Regions from separate parts of the Homo sapiens genome. Here all the other regions are linked to region 4. The links are contacts of gene promoters, found by promoter capture Hi-C in human tissues and cell types (Jung and others, 2019). All regions are on one chromosome and are shown on one strand. Each heading gives the region's core, a stretch centred on a gene start or on the middle of the fragment in contact. The rest is flanking DNA. Distances are from core to core; before and after follow the strand shown. Region 1 overlaps SNED1 (sushi, nidogen and EGF like domains 1). Region 2 overlaps PASK (PAS domain containing serine/threonine kinase). Region 3 overlaps HDLBP (high density lipoprotein binding protein). Region 4 holds the start of ANO7 (anoctamin 7).

Evidence for each region. The method cuts DNA at HindIII sites, captures the fragments that hold promoters and counts their contacts. A contact is called where the count stands out against the background at its distance.
Region 1: a fragment that was not itself captured here is called in contact with the fragment with the promoter of ANO7 in region 4 in 4 of the 25 tissues and cell types used here (heart left ventricle, heart right ventricle, hippocampus and 1 more).
Region 2: a contact is called between a fragment that was not itself captured here and the fragment with the promoter of ANO7 in region 4, in 3 of the 25 tissues and cell types used here (adrenal gland, pancreas and psoas muscle).
Region 3: a fragment that was not itself captured here is called in contact with the fragment with the promoter of ANO7 in region 4 in 2 of the 25 tissues and cell types used here (dorsolateral prefrontal cortex and pancreas).

The regions. Positions count from the first base shown.
Region 1 is chr2:241,082,744-241,085,443 of GRCh38, forward strand. The region is part of intron 29 of SNED1 (sushi, nidogen and EGF like domains 1); the gene reads left to right. It also overlaps a transcript of MTERF4 not described here. Among named protein-coding and RNA genes, the nearest start is that of MTERF4, 18 kb to the right of the region's middle. The HindIII fragment of the contact is 4,214 bases long and covers 1-2,700 here.
Region 2 is chr2:241,107,804-241,110,503 of GRCh38, forward strand. PASK (PAS domain containing serine/threonine kinase) reads right to left here. Exons shown (of 18, transcript NM_015148.4): 16 at 364-497. Among named protein-coding and RNA genes, the nearest start is that of MTERF4, 6.9 kb to the left of the region's middle. The HindIII fragment of the contact is 4,883 bases long and covers 1-2,700 here.
Region 3 is chr2:241,279,201-241,281,900 of GRCh38, forward strand. All of the region lies in intron 1 of HDLBP (high density lipoprotein binding protein), which reads right to left. Among named protein-coding and RNA genes, the nearest start is that of HDLBP-AS1, 8.4 kb to the left of the region's middle. RefSeq lists an enhancer at 2,034-2,534. The HindIII fragment of the contact is 3,126 bases long and covers 1-2,700 here.
Region 4 is chr2:241,187,295-241,189,994 of GRCh38, forward strand. ANO7 (anoctamin 7) reads left to right here and starts at 1,383. Exons shown (of 25, transcript NM_001370694.2): 1 at 1,383-1,472. LOC105373971 (a long non-coding RNA gene) reads right to left here and starts at 1,128. Exons shown (of 3, transcript XR_924064.3): 1 at 982-1,128. RefSeq lists enhancers at 653-1,337, 1,338-2,021. The HindIII fragment of the contact is 24,444 bases long and covers 1-2,700 here.

The DNA of each region.
Region 1 (2,700 bases), core at 151-2,650, 100 kb before region 4:
CCAGTTCTGCCATTAACTCATGATGTGGCCTTAGGCCCCCCATCTCCAAAATGGGCTGTGGAGGGAGAGATGCCCAGCCCATCTCTTAGGTCCTTTCTTGCTAACACTCTATGACTCTGTCGGTCACACAGTCCATTTAGTCAACAGATGACTTACTGAGCACCTGCTGTGTGCCGGGCACTGTCCATTTAGTCAACAGATGACTTACTGAGTACCTGCTGTGTGCCGGGCACTGTTCTAGATACTCAGCACACATCAGAACAGAGCAGACCAAAGCCCTGCCTTCAGGACCCGTTCATTGCAGATGAGGGGACAGACAACAGACAGCAGTGAGAGTGTGGTGTGTGGTGTGGCAGGTGGTGAGTGCAAAGGGAAAAAGGACGAGATGACAGGACGAGACCAGGAGAGCCTGCTGGGGATGGGCAGGGCTGGTGCAGCAAGAGGGCAGCCTCCTGGGGAGGGCGATGCTGAACAGACATGGAGGAGGGATGGACATTCCAGAGCCAGAGGACAGTTACCAGGGCCCCAAGTCAGGAGTGTCCCTGGCATGTTGGGGGAGAAGTGGAGAGTGGTGAGAGGTGAGGGACAGGGAACCCTCGGGGCCATGGAGACCCACAGAAGGACTCTGGTGTTTGTCCGGCATGAAATGGGGAGGAGCTACTGAAGGGTTCTGAGCAGAAGAGTGACATGTTCGATTACACTACTTTGGATGCTCTGTGGAGAATGGGATGTAGACGGGCAAGGGTAGAAGCTTCATTAGAGCTTGGACATGAAGCCAGGTGTAATATGTAGCAGGAACACATATGAGATACTAATCTGTGTTGGGATTTGGGAAGCCGTGTTGACAGCCCACTGAATTCGGATTCTATGCAGTGAGAGTCCGAATCCACAGTATCTGCCATCTTCCCGCTGTGCTTAGTTACACCAGTGCCTGCTGGTGACCACCAAGTATCCAACAAGAAGACCCTTCACTTCCTGAAAGCATTCTATCCTTTCACTTTTAACCTATCTGCATATTTCAAGTGACTTTCTAGTATTTAACATAGAGGTGGGTCTTGCTGGATATCTAGTCTGACAGTCTGGTTTTTATTGGAGTATTTAGACCATTTACTACCTTCCACATAATGGCTGATGTGGTTGGATTTAAACTGCCATATTACTATTTGTTTTCTATTTTTCCCACCTGCTTTTTGTTCCTTTTTTCTTTTTTCCTGCCTAATTTTGGATTACTTTTTAGGATTCCATTTTGTCTCCACTATGGGCTTACTGGTTATACTTCTTAGGTTTATTGTTTAGAGGTTGCTCTGGGATTTGCCATACACATCTTCACCTTAACACAATGTACCCTTAATTACTATTGTACGAGTTCAATATGATGGCAGCGTCTAGGATTTTTTTTTTTTTTTTTTTGAGACAAAGTCTCCCTCTTGTCCCCCAGGCTGGAGTGCGATGGTGCGATCTTGGCTCATCGCAACCTCTGCCTCCTGGGTTCAAGCAATTCTCCTGCCTCAGCCCCCCGAGTAGCTGGGATTACAGGCGCCTGCCACCACACCCTGCTAATTTTTGTATTTTTAGTAGAGACAAAGTTTACGTAGAGACAGGGTTTCACCATGTTGGCCAGGCTGGTCTCAAACTCATGACCTCAGGTGATCCACCCACCTTGCCCTCCCAAAGTGCTGGGATTACAGGCGTGAGTGACTGTGCCCGGCCAGCAGTGTCTAGGATTTACCATACACATCTTCAACTTCACGCCGCATACCTTTAATCACTAGTAGACAACTTCAGTATCCATGGCAGCGGCTGACATCAAGCTTCCACTTCCCTCCCATCCTTTGAATTATTATCAGACTTTTTCCTTCCACATATGCTGTGAACTGCACTATACGTTATTTTTGCACTCAAAAATTATCTTGTTTTAGATATTGAAAGTAAAGTATTTTGTATTTATTGTACATCTGCCTGCCGACTCCAGCACTCTTCATTCCTTTTTGTAGATCTAGGATTCCATCTGGTATCATTTCTCTTTGCCATAAGAACTTAACTCTAACATCTCCTATAGCACAGGTCTGCAGGAGATGAATTCTCTCTGCTTTTGTCTGAAACTATTTTTTTTTCACCTTCATTTTTGAAGAATATATTTGCTGAATATAGACTTCTTGATTGACAGTTATATTTTTTTCTTTCATGACTTAAAAGTTGTCATGGCTTTGTCTTCTGGCTTGCATAGTTCCAGACAAGAAGACTGCAGTCATTCTTACCTGTGTTACACTGTATGGAATGTGTCTTCCTGCCCCTTTTATGTTTTCCCTTTATGACTGTTTTTGGACAATTTAATTATGATGTGCTTCTCGGTATGGCTACGTTTTGATTCTCTGGAGTTTAAGCTTCTTGTATTTCTGGGTTTTAATTTTGTCAAACTTCGTAAAATTTTTGCCATTATTTCTTCATATATTTTTCCTGTCCCTCCATTTCTTCTACTTCTGGGACTCCAGTTATGCGTGTATTAGACTGATATTGTCCCACAGGTCACTGCAGCTCTTCTCAACTTTTTCAGTCTTTTCATTTTGGACAGATTCTATTGCTATGCACTCAAGGTCATTGATCTTTTCTTCTGCAGCATCTACCATTAATCCTGTTCAACAAAAGTTTTATTAATACTGTGTTTTATCATCTCCAGAAGTTTCATTTAGTTGTTTCTTA
Region 2 (2,700 bases), core at 196-2,695, 79 kb before region 4:
AACATGACAGGTGAGGGGATGCCAGCACAAGCTGAGAGAAGCCCCCAGCCTTGCATCTGGATTCGGGCCCCAGTTCCTTTAACCATGTAGGCACCAAGTCAACAGGGCCACTTGGAGCCTCCCTGTCCTGACTGCAAGTGTGTTTCTCACAAGAGGGCCTCTAAGATCCAAAGAGGAACATTAACAAAAACTAAATTATCAAGATGTTTTAAAGTCATATGCAAATTATTTGATGAATAGAAAAGAAACAAATGAGACTGTTGATATGGACAGAGATACACTGAGGAATGAGGAAATGGGAAAAAAAAGTGGCTGGTCTCTAAGGACAGTGTCGACTGTCTACCACTTGCAGCTCACGCTCACCTTTGGACACCAGGTATGGCGGGTGTATGGCAGCCTCCACGGTCTCCTCCAGCTCACAGAAGGGGTTCTCCTCAAAGACCAGCGTGTACAGAGTGACTCCCAGAGACCACATCTCCAGCTCCGGCCCTCTGTAGCTGTGAGGAGGAGGAGGCATCAGGACGCCACGGCACTCAGCGCAGGCTTGCCAAGCCCGCCCATGGGAAGCACCATGGCCCTTCCCGACCAGCACACAGGCCAGGCAGTGGTTTCCCAAGAGGAGGGTCACTCCACCCCTCAAACACGCCCTCCATTTCCACGCACTTCTGCCCCAGGCCAGCCAGCAGGCCATGTGCCAGGAGTGGAGAGGCCATCGGGCAGCTCCGAGGCTAATCAGGAACTTCCTTGTGGACACCAACCACAAGACGTGTCTACCAGAGGGGGGAGCGGGGGGAGGGCTTCCTGGAGGAAGCAGAGTACACGTCCATTGGCTTTGCTGAGGGCCACGGGAGCTGCAGGCCACTTCAGAACAGGGTCACGTGCCCTTCAGACGTGATCAGGCATGTTCACGATCTTGGTGTGAACGGGCTTGGTGTGACCATGGACACACATGCCCTTTAGGAAGATGGCTGTGGCGACGATGTGAAGGGTGCTGCAGGACGAGACTGAACAGGGAAAAACACCGAAGGATGAAAGCAAACAAGAAGGACGTGGTGAAGGTGGGTGTTCACACAGTGGGCCAAATGGAGGAGCAAGCTTCAGGGAGAAGACACCCAAAGGACTATTGTTACTTCCTGTCGCCGTAAACATCCTCATCCACGCTACCATTTATTTCCTGTCACCGTAAACATCCTCATCCACGCTACCATTTATTTCCTGTCACCGTAAACATCCTCATCCACGCTACCATTTATTTCCTGTCGCCGTAAACATCCTCATCCACGCTACCATTTATTTCCTGTCACCGTAAACATCCTCATCCATGCTACCATTTATTTCCTGTCACCGTAAACATCCTCATCCATGCTACCATCTATTGGGTACCTAGAGATGCCAATGCTGTACCAGCATTTTACATGGCTTAACCCAAATCCTCACAACAACCTAGCAAGATAAATATGACTTTCATTTTGCACAGAAGAGCAAGGCTTGGTGAGGTGAAGTTGCTGCCAAGCACGCACCAGAGCCAGGTCACCAGCACCCACAGCCCTGCCCCTGCACTGGCCAAGGCCATGCGTCTCCAGGTCCGCAGCTGGGGGTCTGTCCCCAGAAGAGGTCTGGGAAGCAGCAGCCTGTTCTCAGAACCAGAATTAGACAAGGGAGCCAAGAGAAACCACAGCAGTGAGAAGAGTGGCACGGACAGAGCCCCGGGCTGGACTCGGAGAAGAGGGGCTGGGAGGGAGGGGAGGGGAGGGGAGGGGAGGGCTCAAGAGGGCAGATCACAGAGGCCAGAGCAGCAGCGTGGGTGAAAGTCGGGCCCCCAGGCTGAGTCAGCAGGGTGGTGGGGTGGCTAGCACAGACCGCAGGGAAGCTGAGCGGACGGATGAGAGCTGTAGGGGCTAGAGCAAGAAAATCAGTTTCAGCAGTTTTTGTTTTTGTGTTGTTTCTGTTTTTTAGAGAGATTTCAAGATGTTTAGAAGCTGAAGAGAAATATCCAATAGAACAGAACAGAGGTTGGCAAACTTTTCCTGTGAAGGGTCAAATAGTAAATATTTCAGGTTTTGGGCCACATGGTCCCCACTGCAACTCAACTCTGTCATGTAGGACAAAGGCAGCTACAGACGACACATAAGCAAATGAGCACAGCTCCATTCCAATAAAACTTTATTTATAGAAACAAGAGGCAGGGGATGTTTGCACACACGTTTGTAGCAGCATCACGAACAACATAAAGATGGAAGCAAAAGGTAGAAGCAACACAAATGTCCACTGACAGATGAATAAGTACAGCATATCCAGAAAACGCAATCAAATTCAGCCTTGAAAAGGAAGATGCTGGCACAGGCCACAACATGGATGGACCTTGAGGACTTTATGCAAAGTGAAATAAGCCAGTCACCAAAAGGCAAATGCTGTACGATTCCACGTATAGGAGGTCCCTAGAGTAGTCAGATTCATAGAGAAAATAGCAGAATGGCAGCTGCCAGGGCCTGAGGAAGGGGAAGAGGGACCTAAGGCCACAGTCTGCCGACCCTGGAGTAGACGGAGATGAAGATGACAAGACAGAAGCCAGGGCCCTGAGGATGGGATTGAGAATAAGAACTCAGAAACCCTTTCATCCAGGGAGATGGGGAGAGGACGCAGGAGGGAGGAAGGAGCTCCTGAGAGGAGGCCTGCAGCCCCGCAGGCCCAGGAGCAGTA
Region 3 (2,700 bases), core at 22-2,521, 92 kb after region 4:
AATTCAATGCAAATGTAACTTAAATCCCAAAAGGTATGTGTGTGTATGGAATTTTACAACCAGATTTTATACAATTTTTATTTATACAAGTTTTCTATATGTAATTTTTATAATGTTGCATTGCAAACACTGAATTGTAAAAAAAATTATTTATATACACCATTTTTAGAATAGTTACAAATACAATCATATTTACACAACAAAATTTATACAAAAGATCAAGGACCAAGAACAGCTAATATAACTCTGAAGAAAACAACGTGGAGGAGGGCTTGCTCTCTCCAGTGTCAGTAATTCAGGCTGTGGTGCTAGTGCCGGGGACAGACACAGAGAACAAGGGAGCAGCAGAGTGGGCCCAACGCAGACACCACAGACACTGACATTGCCTGCCTCAGATGTGGTCGTGTGGATCAGCAGGGAGATGGATGATGCAATCAATGGCTCTGGGAAAACTGGTTATCTACAGTAGGAGGGAAAAACTAGGTCCTTATTTGACACCATTTGCAAGGCCTATTAAGGCTTAAGAAGCAAATACTCCACGAGCGAACGATCCCACTTCTGGAGACGTACTTCAGGAAAAAGCTTTCCTGGGCAAAAGGAAATATGTACAAGAATGCTCATCTCACTGCACTGCTAGTAATAGTCAACAAATTTTTAAGAACCTAATTGTCAGTGGATAACATGGATAAACAGAGGTATACAATTTATGCAGCCTACTCCTCTCTTTGCTTTAACTTATCACCTGACAGGAACCCGCTGCAGTGGAGCCATGCTGAAGGGGTTAGGAGGAGCAGCGGACCAGGGGTCATCTCCAAGGCTGTGGGAGCAGAGATGTGGAGGACAGGCGCCCACCACTTCCTTGGCAGCAGTGCAGTCTTATAGGAAGTTATTGGCACCATGGGATGGGAGCTAAGTTTAGCACAATTTGCACTCCCATACTGAGTGTGGTGGTCAAAGTCAGGTCAAAGAAATGTTTCCATCCCATTTGAAAGCTGAAAATTTAAAATTATATGTGGCTCATATTACATTTTTATTAGCACAAACTAATTTTATAATTAAGCTTATTTATACTCAGTTTAATTTGACTTGTAGCATATTCTAATAAGGAACAACTTTTCTTTGGCTCACATGTATTTACTGCTAATATATATTACAGTATATATTATTACATTAAACTCCCAGCCCTAAAATAAAGTCTCACGAAAGTTCAGATGAGACAGAAACAAAGACCTTGCAGTCCAGGGTTTCCTGTAAATTTGCCTTGTTCTTTCTCCACTAACTAATTCTGTCAGTTTCACTACTTTTCAGGAAGTAACAGAAAAGGTAACTTAGTATATTCTCCAGTGACACTGTTCTCTGGCTTATTTCTTTGATTCACGTATTTCTAGGTAAGGTGAAAATACGTAACTTGTGTTTTATCCGAGTCATTATAGGCACCTATAATGAGAACAAATTGTATAAAGAACACCAAACTTGTTGCCAGGATACCTGCTTTCAGAATCTTGCTCAGATATAATTTGGGTCACCTTGGCTAGTTGTTTAAGCTCTCAACTTTAATAATTCACATTTCTAAGTTTTGGGGCCTTTTCTGCAAGTTGTTAAAAAGATCAAGGAAAATGGTATCTAAAAGAACCTGCCCTTTAATAGGTATCTCACTGTTTGGGAATGCTAACATTTAATTCCACTAAACCACTAAACTCACTACTTTCCACTAAATTAATACATTTAGTGGAGTATGCCACTACATTAATTTTACAAATACAGAAACAATCAGCACATATTTCTACAGCTGAGTAAAGAATAATATTTACTTAGAGCCTAATTAAAGAACATGTGTCAGATAAATACAATTTATTTTCTTAATAAGATGGGGGGCTGGGCGCGGTGGCTCACGCCTGTAATCCCAGCACTTTGGGAGGCCGAGGTGGGCGGATCACTTGAGGTCGAGAGATCGAGATCAGCCTGACCAACAGGGAGAAACCCCATCTCTACTAAAACACAAAATTACTCGGGCTTGGGGGTGCATGCCTGTAATCCCAGCTACTCGGGAGGCTGAGGTGGGAGAATCGCTTGAACCCGGGAGGCAGAGGTTGCAGTGAGCCGAGATCGCGCCATTGCACTCCAGCCTGTGCAACAGGAGTGAAACTCCGTCTTAAAAATAAATAAATAAATAAGCCAGGCATGGTGGCACGTGCCTGTAATCCCAGCTACTCGGGAGGCTGAGGTGGGAGAATTGCTTGGGCCTAGGAGGTGGGGGTTGCAATGAGTTGAGATCGTGACACTGCACTCCAGCCTGGCTGACCAAGTGAGACCCTGTCTCAAAAAAATAAAAAAGAGGATAGGACAAATGTTAGGTCCAAAAGAATAAATTGATGGATTTTCATAGAAATAGACTACTCTTTTGAGCTGTGCTGGCCAACATCTACTGGCCACATGTCACTACAGCCTTCACACGTGGCTAGTTTAAAATGATATGTGCTGTAAGTCTAAAATATACATCAGATTTTGAAGATTTAGTACAAGAAATACTATCTAAAACATTTTATTATTAGTTTTAGGATGGATTACATGTAAAATGGTAGTATCTTACATTGGGTGAAACAATATTATTAAAATTAACTTCACTTGTTTATTTTTATATTTTTAAGGCAGATGTTGGAAAATTTTAAATATATGTGGCTCATATTGGACAGCAGTGCT
Region 4 (2,700 bases), core at 133-2,632:
ACCTCTCATGCAGATGCCCTGAGGCCCAGGGCCCCAAGGTCCTGCCGCCCAGGCTCTGCTGGTGCTGACAGGGAACCCGGCCTGCAGGGCCTTCCCGCTGTTCCGAGGCACAACACAGGTCCAAGAACAGGGCCCCTTGGGAGGTGCCAAGCACAGAGGGGCATAGGTATAAGGGAAAGCTGCAGCCAGGATGAGGGTCCGCCTGGAGGGATTTCAACAGGCAGAAGGGGGCACCTGGAACAGCAAGCTGAGCTTGGGGCTCCCCAGTGCAGTTGTGCATGGAGGGCGAGGAGCACGGGTGGTAGGTTCTCAGACACTGCCAGGCACCAAGGAGGAAAGGGGGAGGGGGAGGGAGAGGGGAAGAGGAGGGGCGGGGAGAAAGGATAGGAGGAGAAGGAGGAGGAGAGGGAGAAGTGGGGGGAGGGGGAGAAACAGGAGGAGGGGAGTGGGGAGAAAGGAGGAGAAGGAAGAGGAGAGGGAGAAGTGGGGGGGAGGGGGAGAAACGATAGGAGGAGGGGGAGTGGGGAGAAAGAGGAGGAGGAGGAGGAGTTGGGGGGAGAAATGATAGGAGGAGAGGGAGAGGGGAGAACGGATAGGAGGAGAAGGAGAGGGAGGAGTAGGGGGGAGAAACAATAGGAGGAGAAGGAGGAGAGGGAAGGTGGGGAGAAAGGATAGGAGGAGGGGGAGAAAGGAGGAGGGGGAGGAGGGCTAGGAGGAGAAAGAGGAGGGCTAGGAGGAGAATGAGGACGAGGAGGAGGGCGGAAAGGATGGGAGGAAGGCTAGGACCCCTCCTGTCCTTTTGCAGATGGGGCCCTGAGCATGGGATGTGCCTGAGGTCACCCCTCAGGCATTAGCAGAGCCAGCAGTGTGATCTGGGTCTCCCAATCTCCCCAGCCCCCGGGTGAAACCCTGGCCCACCACTCAGCACATGCTACGTAACCTCAAGGAGCCTCAGTTTCCCCCCACATAAACAGAGCTTACGAGGTCTGCCTGGCAAGGCTTCCAGCAGAGGTGGCACTTGTGGCTGTTCCTGTGGAATCCCACCTCCTCGAGACCCTCCAAGGCAGCAACTATGACAGCTGATGCCAGCCCTGAAATCTCTAAGCAAATAAGGTTCCCAGGAGGACGGCAGCATTTGCATGCGGGTGTGTGAAAGCCCAGCCAAGTGGGCTGCCTCTGTCTGCAGCTCTGAGCCCCACACCCCCTATTTAAACAAAGATAGATCCTGCTCCAGGAGCCGGGAAGCCTTGCCCTGGCCAGCTGTGCTGGGCACCTCCCCTGCCTGCTTCCTGGCCCACTTGCAGGCAAGGTGAGGGCATGCGAATGGCTGCCACTGCCTGGGCGGGGCTCCAAGGGCCACCCCTCCCCACCCTCTGTCCCGCAGTGAGGACGGGACTCTACTGCCGAGACCAGGCTCACGCTGAGAGGTGGGCCATGACCTCCGAGACCTCTTCCGGAAGCCACTGTGCCAGGTGGGGACCCAGCCTAGACGTGTGGGCCACAGGGAGAAGGTGGAGCGTTGGACTCTAGGGAGGCAGGGCGGCACCCCAGCCCACCGGGACTTTCACACACCCTGGCCTGTGGGGAGGCAGTGCCAGGGCCCGCCCTGGTCCCCAAAGCCCCTTGGGGCACGAGGAGGGACACACACTCAGTGCGGCTCTGGACGGGGTACACCCAGCTGGGGTTGGCTTCCTGCCTGCCCAGGGGCTCCCCCATGGAGCAGGTCCCTTCGTTGGGGTGGGGGGCATCCCCATTCTTTCTGCAGAGAGCTCTGAGGAGGGGCCCGCCTGCCCACCACAGAAGGATGGGGGCATGAGGGGCTGCTGGGTGGCCGAAACTCCTCGGGGACTTTCCTCCAGGAACACCCCACAGTCCGTAGTGAGGCTCCCAGCCTGGGGCCGGGGCCGAGTCCTAACACTGAGACCTGGCTCGGGCTTCAGGGTTAGGCAGGTGCAGGCGGCCCAGGCTCAGTCTCTGTCCCTCTGGGCCTCCGCTAATGTGAAGTGAAGGGTAGAACTAGAAGGCTGCCCCTCCGACCTCCTGCGGCGCCTCCATGGTCACACCCTCCGGTCATCGTCGCAGCTCCAAATGCCAGCCCCAGCTCGAACCCTCTCCTTCCAGGGCCACAGATGTCGTGCTCCTGGCCCCGTTTTGCCAGCCCAAGACTAGGAGCCACGGCACCTGTCCTCCCACAGAGAGAGACCCCCGGGGCGAAGGTGCGGGAGGAAGCTGGGACCCCCAAGAGTTGTGAGGCCGGGCTCCATCAGGCCCGCCTTGCTGGGGAGCTCAGGGCCTATGGGTCCTGGCACTGGGTCCTCAGGCCATGAGCGAAGGCAGGCGACTTGAGGGGTTTCCTGTCCCTGGCTCACATGGCTCCACCCTACGGATAAGAGAGGGAGAGGTGTCTGTACTCCAGGCCCACCTTTCTGGGCCTTCTCAGGCTCCACTGAGTACCCAGGCAGAGTGGACGGCATTCAGGGCTGGGGGACACGGGCACTCACTGGATGGACAGACAGACGCCTGCTGTGCCAGGCCTGCCAGACGCTCCCGCCCCGGCACTGGTTTCTTCCTGGAGCTCGTGGCTGGCTAGGGGGTTCTCCATGTGCTCATGGCCAGGAGAGTCTGCCGAGCCAGCCCAGCCCCATTCTACTCCGAGTCGAGTCTGTAAAGTGAGCTCACTGCAGGCAGTGTGGTGGCCCC